2 separate regions of the Homo sapiens genome follow, and region 1 is linked to region 2. The links are contacts of gene promoters, found by promoter capture Hi-C in human tissues and cell types (Jung and others, 2019). All regions are on one chromosome and are shown on one strand. Each heading gives the region's core, a stretch centred on a gene start or on the middle of the fragment in contact. The rest is flanking DNA. Distances are from core to core; before and after follow the strand shown. Region 1 overlaps CEP135 (centrosomal protein 135). Region 2 holds the start of CLOCK (clock circadian regulator).

Region 1 (4,956 bases), core at 857-3,356, 440 kb before region 2:
CTGCCTTCTAAGACTGGAAACAGCCTCCTGTGAGGAAAAGAGGTGTTTCAGCCATAATCTCAAGGAAAAACAAAATGGATTACATGCTAGATCCAGTCAGCTGGACACGAAAGTGACAAGTGAAATTCTGGATGACAAGAATATGTCATGTTATCTGTACTTTAGAGCTGAATCCAGACATGAGCCAGAGGAGATACCAGTCCATTCAGCTCTCCTCTCACAGAAAAAAGCAAAGAAAAAAGCAGTATCTACTTTAGTTCTTCCTGAGGTCTAACCTACCAAAACTATCGTCAGAGAAGCAAAAGAACAAAACTGGAGATGCTCTTTATGAGTCGCTAATATAGTATTCCTTAATTAACTAGACACACCCAGTTCTTGGTCTTATTTCATTAAGTCATTAGACAATCAGAGAACCCTTATGAACTACAGTCTCAGACTTTTCTTTTCCTAATTCCTTTGATTCTCGTATTTGCTCTGTTTACTATATACTTTTGTGATTCCTAGTTTTTTGTATATTGGAACTATGTCTTTTTTCTCATCATTTACTTTTGTTCTTTGGAGTTCTGGGTGACTTTCATCAGTTTGTTTTTTCTATTTCACCAACTCAGTTTTCTGCCAATATCCAATGCCATTCACTAACTTTTCAGTTTTAATTTGTTAAATCTTTTTTTTAAAGTGTCATTACTATAATCCTTTCTGATCTCAAGTTGTCACTGTTTCATGACTAAATGTTTCACAGATGTAATGTCTTGCTGACATTTGAAAATCTTTTCCTGATTCTGACTGCAAATGTAATTTAGAGAGAGGTATTTCCTCAGATTCTTCAGAGCGGTCCCCTTATTCCGACCTTCATTATCTTGTTACTTATTGCAGCTACTCTGATCAGAAAAAAAGCTTTGTTTGCCTTTTGTTTCCTTGAGTCTTCTGTATTCTAAATTAATTAATGACTAACCAACAACCCAATATGCTAAGGTAAATGTTCTACTTATCGTATTTCTCAGCCCCATATTAGTCATCTAAACCTTTTGATTTTATATAAAAAGTGTTTCTTAAATTTGGTCTCTGTTCTCTAAGTTCATTACCACTGCTTCAGTCCAGATCCTCGGTCTCCTTTTTTTGCCATCAATCTCTAAGACTTGAAATCCATGTTCCATATTTCCACCAAAGTTAGCTTCCTAAAAGGAACACTATTGATATGTCTTACCTCCCTACTTAAAAACTTCTGTTTCTAAGTCAGAAAGGGTTAAAAATTGGAGGTAAATTCTTTGACTTTACGTTTCACTGAAAGAGGCAAGAAAGAGAAAGAAAATGGCATAGGTAGTAAACAATTCTGTAATTTTCAGTATCTTACACTATGAAATACAAATGATCTGAAGTATTTAAGAGGATTTCAAAAGAAGGTTGAAAAACTTTGCCTGCAATCATATTAATCTGTGAAATTTCTTTTAAAAAACACAGATACCCAAAACCTACCCCAGTAGATTCTCAGTGAATTAGAACCTCCCAAAATCAGCCCCTTAAATTCATACTTTTCAAAAGCTCCCAGGTGAGTCTACTGCAAAGCCAACTTCTAAAACTACTGCACAAAGGCCCAGTCCAAAATGCCATGATTATAAACTTTACATAACCACAAACACATTCCCAGAAATGAAATTAGAAAATTTTGAATAAACTTACCTAAGTGAGTTCACCTCTGTTTTCTGATGAGATGAGTCACCAGCCACATGGCTAAATTTTTGAGCTTGGACTTTTAATTTGTTCTCTAACGACTCTATTGTTTCTTTCATTATTAACACTTTAGACTTTAATTCATATTTTTCGCTTTCAAGCTATAATTTAAATAAAAAAACAGTAGGTATATATCTTAATACGTTAATGATATTTTTCTTAGGCACTCTTTAATAATATTTCCGGAAGAAAACTAAGAAAATAGATTTATTTTTAAAAAAACTTTATAAGTCATGTGTACAGTTTAGGTTCTAAGAGTCAGAATGGGTGTAAAATTTCTTTCTCCTCACTACCATTAAAGATACAAACAAAATATAAAAAGCACGAAGAGAAAAGAATATATCTATAACAGCAATGAAACAGGAAGGAAACCACTGGCAGAGTGAAAATTTTGGGGAATTTCTAAAACACAATAAGTAAATAGGACTGAATTGAGGGGAAAAAAACACAGCACAAAACACTGTAACCCAAACACAAAGTGGGCAAGATCTATGTGAAGAAACAGTATAATTTTCCTGAAAAGCACAGAATATAACCTGACATAATGTACAGGCAACACAATGTTTCTTGATGGGAGCACAATATTGTAAATACACTAAAATTTCCTCAAATAATAGTAAATTCAATGGAATTCCAATACAATTCTAACACAAGCTTTTTAAAAATGGGGATGGCTTAGATTTGATTCTAAATTCATTTACAAAAAAAAAAAAAAAGAAAAAAACAGGAAAAATTTTTGGAAAAAATACAAGTATACTTGCTTTATGAGATATCAAAACAAACTATAAAGTTATTATATGGGAGGCCACGGTGGGCATATCATGAAGTCAAGAGATGGAGACTATCCTGGCTAGCACGGTGAAACCCCATCCCTACGAAAAAATACAAAAAATTAGCTAGGCGTGGTGGCACATGCCTGTAGTCCTAGCTACTTGGGAGGCCGAGGCAGGAGAATCGCTTGAACCCTGGTGGCAGAGGTTGCAGTGAGCCGAGATCACGCCACTGTACTCCTGCCTGGGCAACAGAGTGAGACTCTGTCTCAAAAAAAAAAAAAGTTATTATAATTAGAACAGTGAAGATTTCACATACAAATGCGCAAGCAAATTTATGAAAGTGAAAACAGTGAAAAATATCATGCACAGATGTAAATTTAGAAAAGATAGCATTTTTGGGAAGTAGGAAAAGCATAAACTTAAAAAATAAGAGTAGGGGGCTGGGCGTTATGGTGGCTCACACCTTTAAGCCTAGTACTTTGAAGGCCAATGCAAGAGGACCACTTGAGGCCAAGAGGATTGCTTGAGGCCAGGAGCTCGAGACCAGCCTGGGAAACACAGTGAGACCCTGTCTCTACAATAAAATTTTTTTTTTAAATTAGCCGGGCATGATGGTATACCTGTAGTCCTAGCTCCTAGGGAGGCTGAAGAGGTGGGAGGATTGCTTGAGCCCAGGAGTTGGAGGAGGCAGTGAGCTATGATCATACAACAGCACTCCGGCCTGGGCAACAGAGCAAGACTCTGTCTCTTTAAAATAAATAAATAAGTGTAGGGACAAACAGTCACTGGAAAAACAACTTAGCTGGATTTCTTCTTTATTTTACATACAAAAATAAATTCTAGATGGGAAAATGACCTACATTTAAATTTTAAAACCAATAAATATTAGTAATAAATGTAAGTCTTCCAGTTAAAACTGTGGACTGACCACACATATTTTATCTCCCCTCCCTCTGAAAGCATTGCTAAAATGACAGTAAAGGAATAAGAATACACAGCTCTAGAAGCGAGGTTTTTAGAAGAAAAAACTGAAACTGATGTTTGTGTATTCAAAACATATTTAAAGGCATAAGTCAGAGATAATGGAACTCTTGACAAAAATTAGCAATAGGTTCAATGAAAACCAGGTAACAAAAAGCAAAGCAAACCAAAACAAAGTCAATTACTAACAAAAGGAAAAAAATTTACAAGAAAAAAGAAGATGGATCAGTCACCACTACTCCATCACAGCACAAAAGCAGTCACAGACAATATGTAAATAAATGAGCAAAACCATGCTGCAAAAACAGACTGGAGGCTGCATTTGCCCTGGGGATCATATTTTGCTGAGCTCCATCATATCTGGTACATATCTAGAAAGGGAATTGTTGGCTCATAGGGTATGCCTTTGCTAGATAACACCAATTTTTTTGGAACAGATATGAAGTTTGCACTCCTAGGAGCTACACATATTTGCTAATATATGTTACAACTTGATAATTTCTAATGCCTTGATGTAAAATGATTTTACTGTTTTAATTTACATTTCCCCCATTATTGAGGTAGAATATCTTTTATGTTTATTAGCCATTTGTAATTTCTTCCTCCATAAAGAGTTTATTCACATCTTCTGTTGAGGCTTTTTCAGGGGAGGGGGATTAAATGTGTAGCAAACTGTTCTATCAGTGGCTTATCTTTTCAATTTATAGTTAAGTAGATAAACAAAGATTTTTTTTTGCCAATGTGGTCCTATTTATCAGTGTTTTCCTTTAAGGAATAAATTTATTTGTGTTTGTGTCTTGTTTAGGGGCACACATTCTGGCACCAGACATCTGCTAGCTGTGTGATCTTAGGCAAGTTTCCCCTCTGCCTCAGTTTCCTTATTTGTGAAATGAGGACAATATTAGCATTTACTTTATATGACTGTTATGAAAATTAAAATAATTGGGTATAAAATGTTGAGAAAAGTATCTGAAACATAGTGAATGCTATATAAATGACTGATATTATTATTTCTCCAAGGTCAAAAAGATCTTCTGCATTTCTTTAAAAAATGTAGTAATATCTTGAACATTCAAGGCTGTAAGTAACCTTTAACTGATTTTTGGGTGTGGCATATTTGAGTTAGGATCCAATTTTTTCCTTTTAAAATATGAATAGCCAATAGTCTGAGAAACAATTAGTGAATAATCATTCCTTTTCCCACTGATCTGAGTTACTTCACAGATCAAATTCTTACATTTGTGGGTTTGCTCTCTACTGGGTTTGATCAGTCTCTCCCAATCCCTGTTGTTTTATTATGTTTTTTTTTTTTTTCGAGACGGAGTCTTGCTCTGTCTCCCAGGCTGGAGTGCAGTGGCGTGATCTCGGCTCGGCTCACTGCAAGCTCGGCATCCTAGGTTCATGCCATTCTCCTGCCTCAGCCTCCCGAGTAGCTGGGACTACATGCGCCCGCCACCACGCCCGGCTAATTTTT
Region 2 (5,237 bases), core at 2,163-4,662:
TACAGAAGAAGAGACATCAGGTAGATAAACAGACGTGTGTATAGAGCCCAAGGGAGAAGTGAAGGCTGGAGTTAAAAATCTGTGAGTCATTTCAACTATTCTTAGGGTTCCAACAAGAAATTGTAAAGATTTACAACCACCATCGTCACCACCTAGCCTTTATGTAGCAGTTTAATTTACCTTTGATCATCACAGTTCTCTGAAATGCCTAGTCTTGTAACTTTACAGATAAGTACCTGAAGCTCAGAGGAATTACTTGATTTGCTCACTATCTCTCAGCATGAGTCAGAATTTAAGCCAAGAGTTTTGACCACAAAGTCTATAATACTACCTCAACTATGAGGCAGGGTTTTGTAGTTCCATTTTAAAGGGATTAGAAAGAATATGAGTAACTGAATAAACTATGCAAGCTTTAAAAAAATACTTAACCTTATATTCTCTATTAAGCATATCTTAAAGCTTCCTGTTCTCCAATTCACCTTAAAGTATGGTAGTAAAACTAGGAATGTCAATGAATGGATGAGTTACTATGAAAGAACAGATATGACTTTGTGACTGATGGGACATAGGAGTTAGGGCAAGAATTAGAGCAAAAGAGACATGAAAATTACCCAAAAAGGAACATCATTGACAAGAATAGCCAACATTTCTATGGGATTTCTTATGTACCAGATAAAATTACACACACACAGACACACACACTGTCTCGGTTAAGCTATGAGATAGGATTGTAATTATCCCATTTTAAAGATGACGAAATTAAAGAACAGAGAAATAACTTGCTTAAAGTCATGCAGAATATTAGTGGTGAAGCTATGATTTAAATCCAGGCAGTTAAGATCCTAATTTTGTACTCTTAACCACTATGATACGTTGCCTACCAACTGGGGGAAATCAGTTGACAGAGGAGTTGGAAATACTCAGTTTAAATGATAGCAAGGTTCACAAGAAAGGGTGAACAGAATATCTGAAATTATGTTTAAGGCTATGGAATATAAATTTAGGAGCTATGAAATTATGAGGCAGGATTTTTGTTTTATGGAAATGTGGGATCTGGAAGTTGGAAAAGCTATTGGAAATATCCAATACAGGCTGGGTACAGTGGCTCGCGCCTGTTAATCCCAGCACTTTGGGTGGCTGAGGTGGGTGGATCACTTGAGGCCAGGAGTTCAAGACCAGCCTGGCCAACATGGTGGAACCCCATCTCTACTAAAAATACAAAAATTAGCTGGTGTGGTGGTGGGAGTCTGTAATCACAGCTACTTGGAAGGCTGAGGCACAAGAATTGCTTGAACCCGGGAGGCAGAGGTTTCAGTGAGCTGAGATCATGCCACTGTACTCCAGCTGGGCAACAGAGCAAGACTCTGTCTCAAAAAATCTGTCTCAAAAAAAAGACATATCCAGTACATTTTTTCTTTTCTTGGAGAGAATGTGGGAGAAAGGAGAAGCTGTGAACTGAACCATGGGAAATGTTCAAGCAGTGAGAGAGGACTGAGCAGAAAAACGGGGGATTATCAACAGGTCTTGGTAAATAATTAAATACAGTGAAAGAGGGAGGAGTCAAAGATGGACATGGTTTGATCTTGGTGACTGAGAGGACAATGAAATCATTAAAAAGGGCAAAGGTATTTTGAAGATAATATGTTCTAGATGATGGGGAATATAAGGAGGGATCAGTGTCTCTAGAATAAAATTCAAAAATCCATCCTAGGGAAAGCATTCAAGCCCTCTCTTGTCTGGCTGCAACCTACCTTATCAGTATTAATAACTTTGCCTCCGTCTTGCTACCTACCTCTTGTCAGTCGGGACTCTTGATTACATGTGAAAGAAAACCTCTCACTGGTTTAAGCAATAAAACAGATGCAAGAATTTACTGACTGGTTTAACGAAATTTCCAGAGGAATCTAATCTACATTTGTTTCCAGGCCTCAAACATGTCTTTAGGCCAAACCTGTCTTCAAATCTGCTTTTTTTCCGTGTTGCCTTCTTTCTCAGAATTCACGTGTGGAAAGATGGCTCCAGGTCTCCATTCTCCCAGATTTAAACCCATTGGTAAAGACGTAACACCCTTCTTAGGAACCGTAGTTTGCAACCGAGGATTAAACTCAAATATGCCTTCCCCTTGTGTCCTGCTCAGACCATATGGACTGAGAGTGGATAAATGATAGTTCTTCAAAAGAAATTATCAGAATAGGGAATGAATGCTGAACAGGCAAAAATGTCGACCAAAATATCTTCTGCTATATGATGGGGTAAATTAACAAATCATGTTTTCCCACTCCTGAAAGAAAAATCCTTAGGTGCAGGATCAAGGATCTGAATAAGTGCTTCAGTTTGATGTTCTTTTGCCCAGAGCATACAGCAAGAATTGAAAATGTTTACTGAGGTGACTGTTACTTTAAAGGGAGGATTTTACGGCCAGAAAAGTGCATTTTTTGAAAGAAAAAGATGGCTTTTATTTCAAATCCAAAAGATATTCATTAAAACATAGGAATTACTAGGAATTAAGACTGTAAAGATCTCTTTTCCAGTAGAAGCACTGAAATGTGCTTTCTCATGTGGACCAAATGTGCCTTAACGCATCAAGATAAGTAATTTCCCGAAGATAAGTAGTAGTCACACGTTGTTCCAACGAGGAAATCCATGCAAATTAGGGTCCTGGTTTATTTCTGATGCTTCATTCTCCATCTTCCATTACACTGTCACTTGATTTTTAATAAAAGGGCAAGGGAAAAATCTCCAAATGAGCAAATAAATCCCGACCTCCTTTCGCTTCCCTCCTCTGGCCGAGGGCGCATGCCCTGTCTCCCCAGGCCCACCCACCAAGAAGAAGCAACCCAAGCCGCGCTCCCTCAGGAGATGGGAGAAGATGTTACTGGCGGTCCAGGCGCCTTTGCAACTCTTCTCTCCCAGCACCAGGAGAGGAAACACGAATGATGCCACTGGGGGAAAAAGTCTCCTGCCAACACCCGAAAAATCTAAGCTGGCGTCGGCAGTGTTTTGCTTTGGAAGGGAGAGCGGGTTCCTTTTCTGGCCTCTGGATCCCTCATCCGGCAGGAAGCTCTTCTTCCTCCTCCTAGCCCCCGGCATACGGGGGGAAAGCCAAAGAGCCTCCAGGACCTAAGGCTAGCGCTCTGCCGGCCGGCCGCGCCCTCCACCCGACCAGGCCCCGCCTCCCCGGCTTTCTAGTAACCGGCGCCGTTCCCGGCCGGGGCAGGGAACGGTGCGCCTGCAGAGCCAGATTTCGGCCCAAGGGGCGCGGGAGTCTCTTCGGGCGTCCGGGATCCCCTGGCGCGGCTCCGTGCTGCCTAACGGGGCAAGTCGCATGCGCACCGAGCCGCGCTGGGGAAAGGGAGAGTGAGGGGAGGGGCGAGCGCAGAGCCTCCGCCGGCCGTCTGAGCCCGCGGGGTCGCTGACGACGCATGCGCCGGGAGGGGGCGCAATCACGGACTCGGCTTGCGGCTGCCGGTTTAAAAAAGGAAACCCCGGAGAGCGAGAGCGCGAAGGAAATCTGGCCGCCGCCGCCGCGAGCGCTCCCGGTGAGAGGCGCCCGCCCGGTGGGCCCAGGGCCTGCCGAGTGCCGGTTGGCTTCCTTGGCGGCGCATGCGCGCTCCTGGGCTGGTGGAGGAGGGGAAGGGAAGGGAGGGGGAGGAGGAGCTGGCCACAGGAGCGGCGAATTTTTGGGGGGGTGGGTGGGGGGCGCCACTCACAGCCCCAGGTGCTGCTGGAGGTGGGAGCCGCGGCGCCTCCTGGACACAGGCGGGGTAGTGGTTCCGAGTCACCGCAGCGGGAGACCTGGGTGGGGGAGGGAAGAAGCCGGAGCCGCCGCAAGCCACACGGTGAGGGCGCGGGGAAGGGGAGGGAGCGGGGGGCGGCGTGTGTGGGGCCGGGGGGCGGCGGCCAAGGGTGGGGAAGGCGGGAGCTGAAGCCCAAGTTTGGCGTGTCGTTCTAGTGTGTCTTTTCCCGGGACTTCGGGCCGAGGCCCGCCCTGCCTGAGAGGCCCTCTGGGGCAGCTGGGGTTACCTGCGGGGCAGGGGCGGGAGTGGGGTGCACGGCGGGGCCGGGCGGCTTGAGGGCGCCCGGAGCTGCGGCCGATTCCAGCAGCTGGGAGGCGGGGAAAGACGGGGACCGGGTGCCGAGAGAGCTTTCGCTGGGGACCCGCTAGGCCTTGTGACCCACTTTATTCCTGTCACCACTCGGGCACGTTTGGAGCAGCGCCCAATGGGGCGCCGGGGCGGCCAGCTCCTCCGGGGAACCCCCGCCCTCCCGGCGCCCGGCCCGCGTGCCGCAGTCCGCAGTCCGAACGGCCGCCGTTGCCGGCCGCGGGCTGGTTCCGTTAGTGGTGGTGGTTCCGGGGTTCCGTTCCTAGGCAGCGCGCGGCTATTAGCGTCTGACTCCAGCGACCGCGCGCGGGTTCGAGGGTTGGCGGCGAGGCGCTCGGTTTCTCTTCTTCCGTCCACCCGCGCTTCCCGTTCCCCGTCACCGCCGCTGGCGTTTGTAGATTTCTTTCCGCCAGTGAAGCTGGGTTTTCTGGAGTTGGCTCTGGCGCTCTGGCCCCTGGAGTGTAATTTCCTACACGCAGCGCCGCAGAGTTTATATTCTTTGAAAGTGTTTGTAGCTTTGTAGAGGTCCTCTTGTTGATGGTAGGTGAGCCTAATTCTGCAAGATAAAAGCCTAGTCTCTGACCTGGCAGATGAAAGATCAAATCAGATTGTGGTTTCCTGCTATTAGAATGCCGTGCTATTAGACTTTAAGGCTTTTTAGCCTTCTTTAAAAAATAAAAAAATTTTTACAGTGGAAGAAAAGCACAAGAAGTAAACTTTTACAGTCGTTGATTTGACTATAACGCTGATCCCCCCAAATCAAAGGTAATTTCACTTTGAAGATTGCGTTCTGATTTGTAGCTTTAAGCGATTAGAGAAAATTGTGCAATATTCCCCTCTACCTGTTTGAAAATAAACATTCTTAAAAGGATGTAATTTAGATAATGAATTGCTTTCTCTGAAACTTATCCCTTGGGACACCTCAAATCTGATTGGTTTTCAAAGCTTGGGGGAAGGAAATTAATTCCTGTGATAAGTGGTTGGCTGAACAGAATGTCTTGAAAGGTTAGCCTGTAGCATTAGGAGAAATACCTAATGTAAACGACGAGTTAATGGGTGCAGCACACCAGCGTGGCACATTTATACATATGTGACAAACCTGCACGTTGTGCACATGTACCCTAGAACTTAAAG

Evidence for each region. The method cuts DNA at HindIII sites, captures the fragments that hold promoters and counts their contacts. A contact is called where the count stands out against the background at its distance.
Region 1: a fragment that was not itself captured here is called in contact with the fragment with the promoter of CLOCK in region 2 in 1 of the 25 tissues and cell types used here (lymphoblastoid cells).

Annotation. Positions count from the first base shown.
Region 1 is chr4:55,988,807-55,993,762 of GRCh38, reverse strand. It overlaps CEP135 (centrosomal protein 135), which reads right to left. Exons shown (of 26, transcript NM_025009.5): 15 at 1,678-1,829. Among named protein-coding and RNA genes, the nearest start is that of CEP135, 42 kb to the right of the region's middle. RefSeq lists an enhancer at 2,625-2,784. The HindIII fragment of the contact is 4,847 bases long and covers 1-4,529 here.
Region 2 is chr4:55,545,084-55,550,320 of GRCh38, reverse strand. CLOCK (clock circadian regulator) reads left to right here and starts at 3,412. Exons shown (of 23, transcript NM_004898.4): 1 at 3,412-3,539. LOC124900704 (a long non-coding RNA gene) reads right to left here and starts at 4,456. Exons shown (of 2, transcript XR_007058122.1): 1 at 3,711-4,456; 2 at 2,432-2,705. RefSeq lists silencers at 3,137-3,506, 3,567-3,666, 3,787-4,416. The HindIII fragment of the contact is 10,162 bases long and covers 1-5,237 here.